Linked DNA regions of Homo sapiens: all the other regions are linked to region 5. The links are contacts of gene promoters, found by promoter capture Hi-C in blood cells and fetal thymus (Javierre and others, 2016). All regions are on one chromosome and are shown on one strand. The core of a region is centred on a gene start or on the middle of the fragment in contact, and the rest is flanking DNA. Distances in the headings are between cores, read along the strand shown. Region 1 overlaps ZNF93 (zinc finger protein 93). Region 2 overlaps LOC124904665 (a long non-coding RNA gene). Region 3 has its middle 62 kb from the start of ZNF93. Region 4 overlaps ZNF253 (zinc finger protein 253). Region 5 holds the start of LPAR2 (lysophosphatidic acid receptor 2).

Region 1 (2,700 bases), core at 88-2,587, 280 kb before region 5:
GGGCCCATTTTTATTTTTTCTTCTGTTTCTCTGTCATCAAATTTTTTAAAAAATTGTATAGAATAAAAGCTAAATATAGACAGATGAAAGAGATACAGAAGAGTTTAATGTAGTCTAGAGAAAATTTCATTCTGTTTATATTTACTTTTTTGACTTGTGCAGCAACTACTGGATCTGCAGGAATAGAAAACAAGTTGCTAAATACAATGTCTCTGCAAGCACTGGTTTTAATAAAAAATTTAAAAACAAACACCTTACAAAACATACTTTTTTTCCCGATTTATCTGCTTTTGAATTTCAGGAAATTGTGAGCACCAGCTCTAGAAAGGCAGCAGGATTCAGCAGCCAAAACTCTGATCTCCTTTAATGAGTTCTGTGAGGCAATACTCCAGGGTAGGTTCAGACCTAACTAAGGTCTCCAAAAAGGATGAATCTGAACACGTCTGGGGCAGGGTGAGAACCCTATGTAGAATTCTGTTCTCTATGCAACTAGGAAACTTCCAGTTTTGTTTTGTTTCTAAGCTTACCTAAAAGAAACTTAAATCCCAGAGTTTCTGTAGTTTTTATCTTTTCTAGTCACTGCCCTGACAACTTTATACTATATACTAGTATGCAACTTAAACAAATCCCTTAAGGTTTTCTAGGGTAATTTTATTAGAAAATAAATATCTACAGTTAGCAAGGTAAAAGAAATAGAAAATATACGGCCAAGCGCGGTGGGTCATGCTTGTAATCTCAAGACTTTGGGAGACCAAGGCGGGTGCAGAACGAGGTCAAGCAGTTAAAGACCAGCCTGATCCAGATGATGAAACCCCGCCTCTAGTAAAAATACAAAAATTAGCTAGGTGCAGTGGCAGGCAACTGTAATCCCAGCTACTCGGGAGGCTGAGAAGGGAAAGTCACCTGAACCCGGGCGGCAGAGTTTACAGTGAGCCGAGATCGTGCCACTGCAAGCCAGACCAGGTGACAGAGTGAAACACCATCTCAAAAAAAAAAAAGAATTTATAACAATTATTTTGTTCATAAATCTCCCTTCAGGTGTAGACATCAGAAGTCACAACAATATAAAGAAAGTGGTCTAAAGCCCAAGATTTTTAACACATCTATTTATTATACCAACCATATGATGCACACTTCAATTACTTATCCAGTAGCTAGTCTAGACTAAAAGTTTCTGGATTGTAGGAACTATGACTGCTTCATGTATTTTTTTAATGCCCATATGAAGTGGAAGGAGCTAGTTTATCTATCTGGGTCTCCAGATCTTCTCCTTATTATCCAAGTACCAGGAAACTGGAGAAGCTGTCATCGGGGTACCAACCAAAGATATCTCTTGTATGAGGGAATGAACAAACACAGGATGACTCATTTCTCTTACACTGAGACAGAAGCAGAATTAACCACTCTTGTCAGCCTGACAAAATTCTGCTCTGGACATCCTCAAATGCCTCAAAGACACCTGGGTGATTGTGAGAGATTCCCAGTGACCCAGGCCTCATGGCCCAATGATAAGCCAGGCTGGAGAGACTCAGGCTAACTCTGAATAGAAAATGGAACTGCCCTGGTGGAGCTCCAGAACCTGGATCACCCATTCTGATTTGCTAGCTCTTGGGTAAGAGAAAGATCAAAAATACTCTACTCTAGTATTACATTTTACAGCTAAATATAATTGTGGTCATGGCTCTGGATACTTTGTGGCCCCGATCTCTCACTCCTAAGATGCTTATTTACACTTACAGATTCTGCCATCTGAGTCTATTTCTCCTGGAGCCCCTCACATAACTGTAGCAGGTCAATGAACAAGATGTGAAAATCTCAAAGAGCCACACTCCCAAATGGGGGCTGTAAGATGTCTATGTTTACATTCACAATGCAGAAAATGACTTTTGTTCATTTTCTGTACATTCTCAATCCAAGTTCTGGTCCTTTCTTGTAAATCCCAGGCAGAGGCCAGACCTTATCTGCAGATTCCAGGTAGGATCCACCTGGCTCTGCATCCTTTGGTGTTACAGCAAGTGGAATACAATCAAAGGAGAGATCCCCTCATAGAGACTACTCTAGCACATTCTAAATGGTAAGTCTACATGAAAAAAAAAAAAAAAAGCTGAAAGAACATGAATATAAGTAGATAGTTTACTTGGGTCAAGCTTAAGGATTATAACCTGGGAGCAAAGATTCAAGTTGCCTGGAATCTGCATTTTGATTACCAGCAGTTACAAGACAATTTGTAAAGACAACAAGACAGGGACAGAGAGTGGGCTGATACAAAGTTGATTGTCAGAAATTTTTATTTATTTACAGAAATAACATCGATTATTGATTACATATATATTATTATGGTTTAGGGTATGGGATATAGTGTCTAATGTGGCATTATTAGTTTAATTTATAATTACTTGTGGCAATAGTGAACAGTTTCAAGAGATGAATACATAGTTCAAAGGGGGGAGAAAGACATAACAGTACTTTCATTTTAATGTCTGAGTTTGATAACCAAAGGGACTTGCATTTCTTAGGTAAGTTTTTTTTTCCCCCAAATCTCAAGACCTGGATTCAAAATTTGGAGCTTCAAGTTTAGGGCCTGAACGACTGGAGTAGCCACAGGTGTTTACCTGTACATTTGTGAGCATTTAGCAAGAGGAGGAAGGGGAAAGTGGAGATTCTCATGTCTCTATGTCTACTCAGCACACACATGTTACT
Region 2 (2,700 bases), core at 154-2,653, 310 kb before region 5:
ACAGAGAAACAGAAGAATAAAAATGCTGGGCCCTTTATCTAAATCCTGAAAATTCCTAAACCCTTAGTACTAGCTCCCAGGGTATTATGAGAATTAAATCACATAATGTGTTATGCCCAGCACAGTGCTCTGTATCATACTCTTGAGCACATAGTACTTGCTTAATAAACATTGCAGTAGTACATGTGTACATGTTGTTTTTTAAACCCAGACTTATTCAAACATTGCTGCCTTCTGTTTCCTCTATAAACTTAAAGAGCCAGCAAAGAATATAAAACTTTAGGATGGAGATGGGTTGTCCTTATTTGCACGACAAGTATTTGGTTGTGAGAAGGGTGTTAAGTGTAAGGGACCCTGTGCTCTGCCTGCTTTCTCTAATGCTAATAATGAGCCAAGGGGGAGCAACATCAGCATTGACAGGAGACTTGTTTAAAACACTCTTTCATAAACCCTTTTCAAACCTGCAGAATCACCTTACATAATGTGGGACCAAAATTACCAAGTGATTTATACTTGTGCCCTCCCCACAGCTTCTGTTTATTGTTCTGGGTGGAAGGATCCATGTTGTTTTAATGAAGGGCCTCATGTGACTCTAAGGTGAGGCCAGAATCAAGTATGAAGGCTTCAAAATACATTTTCGAGAGTTAAGTTCCACCTTTGCACTAAAGGGTGGTCACAGGGCCTGTTCTGTTTGGGTTTGGTAGGGACAGGTCAGTGTGGTGCATATTTCCATTACTGTAGCAGAAATTGCTGGAGTCTCTGGCAGGGGAGGGCACCTGAGGACAGGAAAGGAGAAGCTTATATTTTTGTCTTCATGGAGCAGCTCATTATTCCTGAATCTATTCTGTTTAAAAGACAGCAGTAAGTGAATTTTTCTTTTTCTGCCAGTTGATGTCATACTAGCAGGTAAATGTGGTACTGACACCTTTAAAGGCATATTCTCCATATGCAGGTGTAACTTGTCCAGAGAATCTCATCTGAGAAGGAATTCCAGAGGAGGAGGAGAAAGAAAAAAATGGCTTTTCTTCAGGTAAACATGTGTCAGATGAAGAGCTGTGTCCACTCTGCCTCCTGGACTGCCATGCGTTTAGTACTCACAAACCTTTACTTCTCTACTTGTGTTTTTCCTCCCTAAGGAGTTTGGTTTAACTACTTCTTAAAATTCTTATGATAGTCAAGGGTCTCTGGAAAACGTTTCTGTCCTATGTCCCACAGACTTCTCTACATTCTGTACGTCATAGCTTCTTATATGCCATGCAGAATGCTCCGCAAGAATTTATGACCTGCAATATTAAAAATGTTCCCTTTGTGGCTGTTGAACATGGAAAGATGTGGATACTCAAGGTTTCTATTGGGGAAAACTGTGGCCCTTAGTAAAGATGGAGAACATGTAATGTTGAGGCTCCAGCTGTGTGTTCCATTAGCTCTATGCAGAAGAGGATTAAGAAAATGCTGATTTAAATGGAATGGCATTTATTACCCAGAAAGTTCTGAAAAAAATTATTAGGAGATACTTGCTCTCTAGGGTGCTAAATGAAGCCTAATTAAAATTCCTACTAAAAATTACAGAACATAGGAGTTACCTGTATTTTGAAGTTTGCATAAACTGTTGTTTATGGTTAAATTCAGACTAGTTTACTGTTTTGGGGAGGAATATTTCAACAGTGATGCTGTGTTCTTCTGTGTGCAGTAGCACATCATAAAAATTTGTCCTAGTGCAGTTAATGGTTAATGATTCACTTGGTGAAATAGCTGATTGATTTTTTTCACTGTAGAGATAACTATTTTTCTCTTCATAATTATCTTTATGCAGCTGCTCTACACAAGTGATCACATTTAATCTGGCAGTTCTCCTTTTATTTTTTCTACATATTTTTCTTTAGAAAATGAAGGCTCTTATCTTTGTTTACAGGCTAGAAAAACTGGGAAAACACAGGCTCTACCACTTACTGGATCTTTGACAAAATATCCTTATTAGGCCAAAAACGTTAGCATTACTGGTAAGCTTGTTAGAAATTCAAAAAATCAGCGGGGAGCCCTGGCTCATGCCTGTAATCACAGCATTTTGGGAGGCCAAGGCAGGCAGATCACCTGAGGTTGGGAGTTTGAGACCAGCCTGACCAACATGGAGAATACCCTGTCTCTACTAAAAATACAAAAATAGCTGGGCGTGGAGGCACATGCCTGTAATCTCAACTACTCAGGAGGCTGAGGCAGGAGAATTGCTTGAACCCAGGAGGGGGACACTGCCGTGAGCCAAGATGATGCCACTGCACAGAAGCCTGGGCAACAAGCATGAAACTCCGTCTCAAATAAAAAAGAAAAGGAAATAAATACGTAAATCAGACTTACTCCAGATCTTCTTGGAAAAAAAAAAAAACCTGCATAAGGTCTTCAGCTTATTGTACATAATAAATTTGAGAAATGCCTAAGTGAATGTCTTTTCCATCTGAAAAATATTCACAACTCATTCCGTATGATGTAAATATAGCACTCAAAAATGTACATGTTCGTGTTCATGCCCTTAATTTTATACTTTATTATCTAGAAAAATAAAATATATGAACTGTTGTTCTGGATCTTATGGTGCTTTTTTTTTTTTATCATAGTTAGAGAATAATATTTCTGTTTTGAAAATTATTTTATTGGATAATTTTAGTCAGTGCTATAAGTCAGAACCACTTCTCTTTACTCTCTCAT
Region 3 (2,700 bases), core at 62-2,561, 330 kb before region 5:
GAATTACCAGAGATATACACACAACATTCAGTTTGCAGTAACGTGCAAACCCCTCCTTGGGCTGCGGTAAGCATTTTTAATGCCATTTGATTTTGCAACACAATAGTACGCAGCTGAGCAAATTCATCTGATAACAACACAAGTTCAGTGCTACTATCATTAAGAGCTTTTTCTACATGTAAGGTAAATATTTTAATGTGTTGGTGAAGGAGGAATGTACTGGTGGCAGGGGAGAATACTGTGATAGGGTACCACCACCAGGGAGACCAGCACATTTGTAACCAGTGGTGTTTGTAAGCATCTAGATTACTGGGGAAGGGAATATTATCCCGGATAGTGAATGGAATTAATGTCCACCCTCAAGTGCATCTTCCCATCCAATGCAGGGACAGTATTGCAACCCATAGGATCTGCATACCCAGAGGGCCCCCCAGGGGACAGCAATGGAGCTACTGTAATCATAGTGTACTAATGTGTTATTAAAATAGGAAAGAGATTGTGGTTCATTGGGGGGCAGTGTTGTTGATTTGGAGTATGTGTTGACAAATGTCTGAAGAAACCCCAAAGAAACATTAGAGGAGCCATTTAAGGCCTCCAGAAAAAGCGAAGCCTGTATGGAATCCAGCCACCAGCACAGCAGGTTTTCAGTGTATATTGTTCCAGGATTATTGGGCAAGATATCAAGACTTTTGATGCAAGGTGAGGGTGGAGTTCATCTTTTGTCTGACCTGGCAAAGATAGATTGCTTAGTGTGGTGAAAGGAAGCCCAGGTTGGATTGCAAGTGTTGTTGTTGTTGTGGCCCTACTGGTAACAATATAGCCATTCAGAAATGTTGTCAGGGACGATTCTTCAAGATAGCCCATCCCAGGCAGCCTCCGGCAACTCAACATATAGCCAACATTGACTGTGGATGGCTTCAGTTGCAGCGGTGGCTACCCAGGTGATGAATTTATTCTTGGCTTCAGACACAAAGACACAGGTGCTGACCATTAGTAGATAGGTTATTCCCTGTAATAACAAAAATGGAGTGGAACATGATTTATTTTTCATCTTTAGGAAATTGTACTATGCCTTCATTTCCCGCTTTCATAGCTACAAGGTCACCAGCCTTAGGGTCAAGATGTGATGGACGCTGTATGCATATTTTGGCTCCAGGATTTAAGCTACCTGTACCAGGGGATCTGAATCCCCCAGTTCTGTATGTAGACTCTGTTGGGGCAGAGATTTCCTCAGGAGTTAATTGTTGACAAGGGTACCACTAAAAATTGAGTAACCAGCATCTAGTTTTATAGCAAAAGAATCTGGAGTGTTATTGTATAAAATGACCTTTAACTCTCCCTGGTAATCACTATCAATTACACCACCATACACTATAATGCCTCTCTTTGCAAGGCTTGAACACATTGTAATCTATTCATCCACATTCAAGTTTACTGTTATGGTGGAAATTGTGGCCTGTTTTTCTTCCTGCTGATTAAATAGCCTGTCAAGAGAAAGCAGAGATGCATGGGCATCAACATGGAAAACAGGGCTGCACATGGTGGTGAAGGGGGCCTGCCCCTCCACACCTGTGGGTGTTTCTCACAAGGTGGAGATGAGAGACTGAGAAAAGAAATAAGACACAGAGACAAAGTATAGAGGAAGAAAGGTGGACCCAGGGGACCGGCGCTCAGCATACGGAGGACCCGCACCCGGCACTGGTCTCTAAGTTCCCTCAGTATTTATTGATCACTATCTCTTTCATCTCAGTGAGGGGGATGTGGTACGACTACAGGGTAATGGTGGGGAGAGGGTCAGCAGGAAAACATGTGAGCAAAGGACTTTGTGTCATAAATAAGTTTAAGGAAAGGTGCTGTGCCTTGATGTGCACGTAGGACAGATTTATGTTTGACTTTACACAAACATCTCAGTGTCGTAAAGAGCAGTATTGTCGCCAGCATGTCTCACCTCCAGCCATAAGGTGATTTTCTCCTATCTCAGTAAATAGAATGTATGATCAGGTTTTACACCGAGACATTCCATTCCCAGCGATGAGCAGGAGACAGATACCTTCCTCTTATCTCAACTGCAAAGAGGCCTTCCTCTTTCACTAATCCTCCTCAGCACAGACCCTTTATGGGTGTCGGGCTGGGGGATGGTCAGGTCTTTCCCTTCCCATGAGGCCATATCTCAGGCTGTCTCAGTGGGGGGAAACCTTGGACGATACCCAGGCTTTCTTGGGCATGAGGTCCCTGCGGCTTTCCGCAGTGCATTGTGTCCCTGGGTACGGGAGACTGGAGAATGGCGATGACTTTTACCAAGCATACTGTCTGCAAAGACATTTTTAACAAAGCACATCCTGTACAGCCCTAAATACATTAAATCTTGAGTCAATACAGCACATGTTTCTGCGGGCACAGGGTTGGGGCTGGGGTTACAGATTAACAGTATCTTAAGACAGAAGAATTTTTCTTAGTACAGATCAAAATGGAGTTTCTTATGTCTTCCTTTTTCTACATAGACACAGTAACAGTCTGATCTCTCTTTCTTTCCCCCACATGGTGGCTGACGCCTGTAATCCCAGCACTTTGGGAGGCTGAGGTGGGCGGATCACGAGATCAGGAGATCGAGACCATCCTGGCCAACATGGTGAAACCTTGTTGAAACAGTGATAACAGTGAAACAGTGATAATGGCAGTGTGCAATGGATTGAGATATCT
Region 4 (2,700 bases), core at 158-2,657, 260 kb before region 5:
CACATAGAAGAAAAAGAAAGCTCTGTTAGTTATACCCAACACAGCTCTTCCTGCTGCCCAGTATAACATTGTGCTTTTAAAAGTAAATTGCCAGTTGGGCATGGTGGCTCACGCCTGTAATCACAGCACTTTGGGAGGCTGAGGTGGGTGGATCATGAGGTCGGGAGTTCAAGACCAGCCTGGCCAAGATGGTGAAACCTTGTCTCTACTAAAAATACAAAAAATTAGCCAGACATGGTGGCGGGCACATTTAATCCCAGCTACTCGGAGGGCTGCGGCAGAGAATTGCTTGAACCAGGGAGGCAAAGACTGCAGTGAGCCAAGATTGCACCACTGCACTCCAGCCTGGGCAACAGAGTGAGACGCCATCTCAAAAAAAAAAAAAAAAAAAAAAAAAAATTAAATTGTTGGCCAGGCATGATGGCTAATGCCTGTAACCCCAGCACTTTGGTAAGGCAAGGCAGGTGGATCACCTAAGGTGAGGAGACTGAGACCAGCCTGACCAACATGGTGAAACCCCATCTCAACTAAAAATACAGAAAATTAGCCAGGCATGGTAACAGGTACCTGTAATCCTAGCTACCTGAAGGCTGAGGCAGGAGAATTGCTTCAACTGTGGAGACGGAGATTGTAGTGAGCTAAGATTTTTGCCACTGCACTCCAGCCTAGGTAAGAGAGTGAGACTCTGTCACACACACACACACACACACACACACACACACACACACACACAAATATAAATTGCCAACTCCTGGTTTCTTTTTTAAAAATAAGAAAAATATTGGCACATACATCTTTATTTCTGGCATCTATGAACTTTTTTAGACACCGGCTAATGTCTCCCATGACATAAAATGCTGAAACAGTGATATGTTAGAATGACAGTTTGAGTCTGCTGAGTCTAAAGGTAAATGTTACAGAAGCAGAGAAACTGCAGTAATCCAAACAGGAATGGCTGTAGCAAGTGATTACTGATTATTAGGAAGAAATATGAATAAGCCGATTTAACTAAACAATAAACACAAAATTTTAGACAAGACACATCCTAAAAACATGTTTGAGAAATTCCCAGAATCTCTAGCCAAAACAATTGATTTCAGACTACACAAGGACAAAACTATATTATAAAGATTGGCACAGGTAGCTTTTTGTTAATGCCTGAATCTCACTCAAAGATTACAATGTATACAAAATATTTGGGCAGCATGGCCCATCAAAAAAATTATAAAATTTTCAAAAGCAGCCATAAAAAGTGAATAAAGTAATTTTTAAAATTCAGAATAAATTGAACAGGCCAAGCTTGGAAGCTCATTCCTGTAATTCTAACACATTGGGAAGCCAAGGTAGGAAAATCACATGAGGTCAGGAGTTTGAGACCAGCCTGGCCAACATGGTGAAACCCTGTAACTACTAAAAATACAAAAATTAGCTGGGCGTGGTGGCATGTGCCTGTAATCCCAGCCACGTAGGAGACTGACACACGAGAACTGCTTGAACCCAAGATGGGAAGCTTGCAGTGAGTGACTGTACCACTGCTGGCCAGGCTGGGCAACAGAGCAAGCCTGTCTCAAAAAAAAAATAAAGTAGGACAGGAACAGTGGCTCATGCCTGTAATCCCAGCACTTTGGGAGGCTGGGGTGGGTGGATCATTTGAGGTCAGGAGTTCAAGATCAGCCTGGCCAACAGAGTGAAAGCCTATCTCTACTAAAAATACAAAAATCAGCCAAATGTGGCAGCATGCACCTGTAATCCCAGCTACTGGGAGGCTGAGGCAGGAGACTCACTTGAACCTGGGAGGGGTAGGTTACAGTGAGCCAAGATCATGCCACTGCACTCTAGCCTGGGCAACAGAGTGAGACTCTGTCTCAGAAAATAAATAAATTAATTAATTACATAAAAGAAATTGAATGATATTCAGTAAGTGAAATAGGAACACAGACGACTACTGAAGATCAGAAAAATGAGGATAAACAAGAAAAAATATTAAAATAGAAAAAAACAAAAATTATGGATATAAAAAATATAAAAATAACTTAAAAATTTCTTAAAAGAAAAAATAATGTAAACATGAAGAAGCTGAACAAACTAGGATACACAAAAAGATATTTATCACAAACACACCTATAAGCAAAATTTCAAAAATCACAGATAAGAAAAGAATTTTGGGTGCTGCAAGATAAAAATGATGTGTCATTTATAAGCATAGTCTTATAAGATAACCAGTGAATTTATCAAAAAAAATTTTTGCAGAAAATAATACCATCGGCAAAATTGTACTATCATATAAAAAGGAGTCCTTCCAAAATAACCAAATCCTAAGAAAGTATATTGGCACTGCATATGCCCTACCTATCAAAGATGCTGAAAGAAGTTTCTTCCACTGAAAATAACATAATACAAGAAAACAACACATGATCATATGAAAATACATAACTTTCTGGAGAAGATATGCACATACACAAAAATAGAATTCCTTACTTATTATCATAATGGCACAGAAAGCACTTTTAGTTATTCTCTAAAATGCAAAAGATGGAAGTAGAGGAATTATTATAAACATCTGTTAATGAATATATAACATAAGTAGAATTAGCAAAATCAATAACAAAGTTGAAGGCAGATGTAATGAAGAATGTTTGCATGCAACTGAAGTTAATTTTTTACTGCATTAAAGTATATTGTTGGATCTTTTAGAGGTTT
Region 5 (2,700 bases), core at 154-2,653:
TTTGCTACTTTGGTTGTGGTCACTCCCCCACACCTGCCTGCCTCCTTCACGGACTCGAAGTGACCTTCCTGGAGGAGGTGGGCAGCTCAGACTCCACATGCTGGTGGTGCCTGAGGTCTGATGGCCTCTAATAAACTGTGTCCTATATGCCCTTGGGTGCATCTCTGCTAGGGGAGAGGCCAGCATGGGTAGCACTCCTTGCCCCCATTTTACAGATTAGGGGAATCAAGGCCTCTTTTTTTTTTTTTTTTTTTTTTTTTTTTGAGACGGAGTTTTGCTCTGTCTCCAGGTTGGAGTGCAGTGGCACGATCTCCGCTCACTGCAACCTCCACCTCCCGGGTTCAAGCGATTCTCCTGCCTCAGCCTCCCGAGTAGCTGGGACTACAGGCGCCTGCCACCATGCCCGGCTAATTTTTTTGTATTTTTAGTAGAGACGGGGTTTCAGCATGTTGGCCAGGATGGTCTCGATCTCCTGATCTCGTGATCGTCCCGCATCGGCCTCCCAAAATGCAGGGATTACAGGCGTGAGCCACTGCGCCCGGCCTCAAGGCCTCCTTCTTGCATCATCAAACACCCTGCAGCACCTACGTAAAGGCAGTTGGAGCTGGGTCGCAGCACCCGGCTGAGTCACGCCAGCCCGGCCCTCCCGGAGCTCTGCGTCCCCGATCCGGTCCTGCATAATCAAATACAGTATAACAAAGTACCGATAACCGGGACAATGGGGCTGTGTGCTCCGGACCGTGGGAGCCCGGGGCCGCCGCAGGGAGGCCGAGGGAGGAAGCCACAGGGCAGGGCAGGGCAGGGCCGGGCTTTGCAGGGGGCAGCGCTGTCCCAGGGTGAGGGGTACGGGGGCGGGATTGCAAAACCCTAGCGTGCGCCCGATGATCAGCTGGGGCCGCAGAGGTGGGCCTCGCACAGGAGGCCGCGGCTCGCTGATACTGCGAGCTGGCAAAGCCGAAGCTGGGCGGGGGTCCGGGCGGTGGGAGCCAAGTCGGATCAGGGAGTGGCTTGTAACTCGGCGGCCGATTGGACACGAAGAAGAGAGCGGGGTGGGGCTGGGAGGGTTGGGGGTCCGGAGCGGGGGCGCGGACCCAAGACCACCTGGAGCTCCGCCCGGGCAGCGCGGGGTCACGGCGGGAATTTTCGGGTCGCCGAGTGACTCAGCCCCGCAGGCTCGAAACTGCGGGCGCATGAGGTGTGCAGGTACCGGGGTGGGGGTCCCGCGCCGGAAATAGGGGCGACTGAGGGGCCGCGAGGCGGGGAGGAAACAGGGGGGCTGCGGTTCCGGGCGACACCGCCCCCGACGCGGCCGTGGAGGCGGGGCTCCCCCAGGTGGCGGGGCGGGGCAGGGCTCCCCCAGGTGGTGGGGGCGGGGCGCCGGGGAGACCCCGCCTCCCGCGCCCTCTCAGCAACCCGCACAGGGCGCACCCGGACGCTCTACCGCTCCCGCCGCAGTCGCCGGGCCATGGGCCTCGAGCCCGCCCCGAACCCCCGCGAGCCCGCCTTGTCTGCGGCGTGACTGGAGGCCCAGGTGAGGCCTGCACGGACGGGAGGCGGGCGGGTGCGGGCCTGGGCCCGGGGGAAGGGCGCGGCACGTGCCTGCGGGGCCAGGACGCCGCCCTCTGATCCCTTAACCCCCTACCCCTTCCCCAGTCTGGAGACGCCTGGAGGCCCGGCCATCCATCCCTTCCCCAACCGCTGTCTTTGTCCCGGAGACCGCCAGTGTCCTCCGTCCCACCCGGAACAGCCTATTGCCCCGCCCGCTTGGGAAGCACTCGCGCCCAAATCCCGCCGACTAACTTCTGGGGCCGCCTCTCTGTCCACTCCGATCACCTCCACGCCTCGGCACCGCCCCCTCGCAGGGTTCTAGCAAGTGACCTCACCCTTGTGTGCACACGCTCCCGGGTCTCTGCTCCCTACACTGACTCCGGCACCAAAGTGATCCTCCCTCATCTCTTCCCGCAGCTCACACCCCTTTGTCTTTCCCTAACCCTCCTCTCCCCACAACCCAAACCGGGTCACACATTGGCGGCAGGTGGGCTGGGATTCGACCATAGATGGGTTTTGTTTCACTTCTGGTTCAAAAACCTATTGACTTGGGTGATGTCTTGCACACAGGTCTTATTAGTAGGTAAGAAACAGCTGCTCCTCCACCTCCACCCCAGCCCCATGGAGCTTGCTTTTTCCAGGCCACCGTAGTCCTCACCACTGCCACTTTGCTTCGAGGTATCTGAATTTGAGACCCTTGTCCTTCCTGCGCTGACCCTCCTCTGCAGCTGCCGCCCCTCCCTGTGTCCTTCCAAGAAGTGCCACATGCACTGATCTCTTGTGTCCCCAGATGGTCATCATGGGCCAGTGCTACTACAACGAGACCATCGGCTTCTTCTATAACAACAGTGGCAAAGAGCTCAGCTCCCACTGGCGGCCCAAGGATGTGGTCGTGGTGGCACTGGGGCTGACCGTCAGCGTGCTGGTGCTGCTGACCAATCTGCTGGTCATAGCAGCCATCGCCTCCAACCGCCGCTTCCACCAGCCCATCTACTACCTGCTCGGCAATCTGGCCGCGGCTGACCTCTTCGCGGGCGTGGCCTACCTCTTCCTCATGTTCCACACTGGTCCCCGCACAGCCCGACTTTCACTTGAGGGCTGGTTCCTGCGGCAGGGCTTGCTGGACACAAGCCTCACTGCGTCGGTGGCCAC

The links. Contacts are between HindIII fragments. The CHiCAGO score rates a contact against its expected background, and 5 or more counts as called.
Region 1: a fragment that was not itself captured here is called in contact with the fragment with the promoter of LPAR2 in region 5 in 2 of 17 cell types (total B cells and total CD4 T cells); the score reaches 6.1 in total B cells.
Region 2: a fragment that was not itself captured here is called in contact with the fragment with the promoter of LPAR2 in region 5 in 2 of 17 cell types (naive B cells and total B cells); the score reaches 6.6 in naive B cells.
Region 3: a fragment that was not itself captured here is called in contact with the fragment with the promoter of LPAR2 in region 5 in 10 of 17 cell types (naive CD4 T cells, total CD4 T cells, M2 macrophages and 7 more); the score reaches 11.4 in naive CD4 T cells.
Region 4: a fragment that was not itself captured here is called in contact with the fragment with the promoter of LPAR2 in region 5 in 1 of 17 cell types (total CD4 T cells); the score reaches 5.4 in total CD4 T cells.

What each region holds. Positions count from the first base shown.
Region 1 is chr19:19,910,054-19,912,753 of GRCh38, reverse strand. The region is part of intron 1 of ZNF93 (zinc finger protein 93); the gene reads right to left. Among named protein-coding and RNA genes, the nearest start is that of ZNF93, 10 kb to the right of the region's middle. The HindIII fragment of the contact is 1,625 bases long and covers 525-2,149 here.
Region 2 is chr19:19,937,896-19,940,595 of GRCh38, reverse strand. It overlaps LOC124904665 (a long non-coding RNA gene), which reads left to right. Exons shown (of 3, transcript XR_007067170.1): 1 at 1-861; 2 at 934-1,030; 3 at 1,913-2,078. Among named protein-coding and RNA genes, the nearest start is that of ZNF93, 38 kb to the right of the region's middle. The HindIII fragment of the contact is 1,208 bases long and covers 800-2,007 here.
Region 3 is chr19:19,961,428-19,964,127 of GRCh38, reverse strand. It overlaps the pseudogene BNIP3P12. Among named protein-coding and RNA genes, the nearest start is that of ZNF93, 62 kb to the right of the region's middle. The HindIII fragment of the contact is 4,095 bases long and covers 1-2,700 here.
Region 4 is chr19:19,888,532-19,891,231 of GRCh38, reverse strand. All of the region lies in intron 3 of ZNF253 (zinc finger protein 253), which reads right to left. Among named protein-coding and RNA genes, the nearest start is that of ZNF93, 11 kb to the left of the region's middle. The HindIII fragment of the contact is 211 bases long and covers 1,302-1,512 here.
Region 5 is chr19:19,626,923-19,629,622 of GRCh38, reverse strand. It overlaps LPAR2 (lysophosphatidic acid receptor 2), which reads left to right and starts at 1,403. Exons shown (of 3, transcript NM_001395660.1): 1 at 1,403-1,531; 2 at 2,339-2,700. The coding sequence starts at 2,348. It overlaps GMIP (GEM interacting protein), which reads left to right. Exons shown (of 21, transcript NM_016573.4): 21 at 1-147. RefSeq lists silencers at 653-782, 1,153-1,652 and an enhancer at 93-1,015. The HindIII fragment of the contact is 41,803 bases long and covers 1-2,700 here.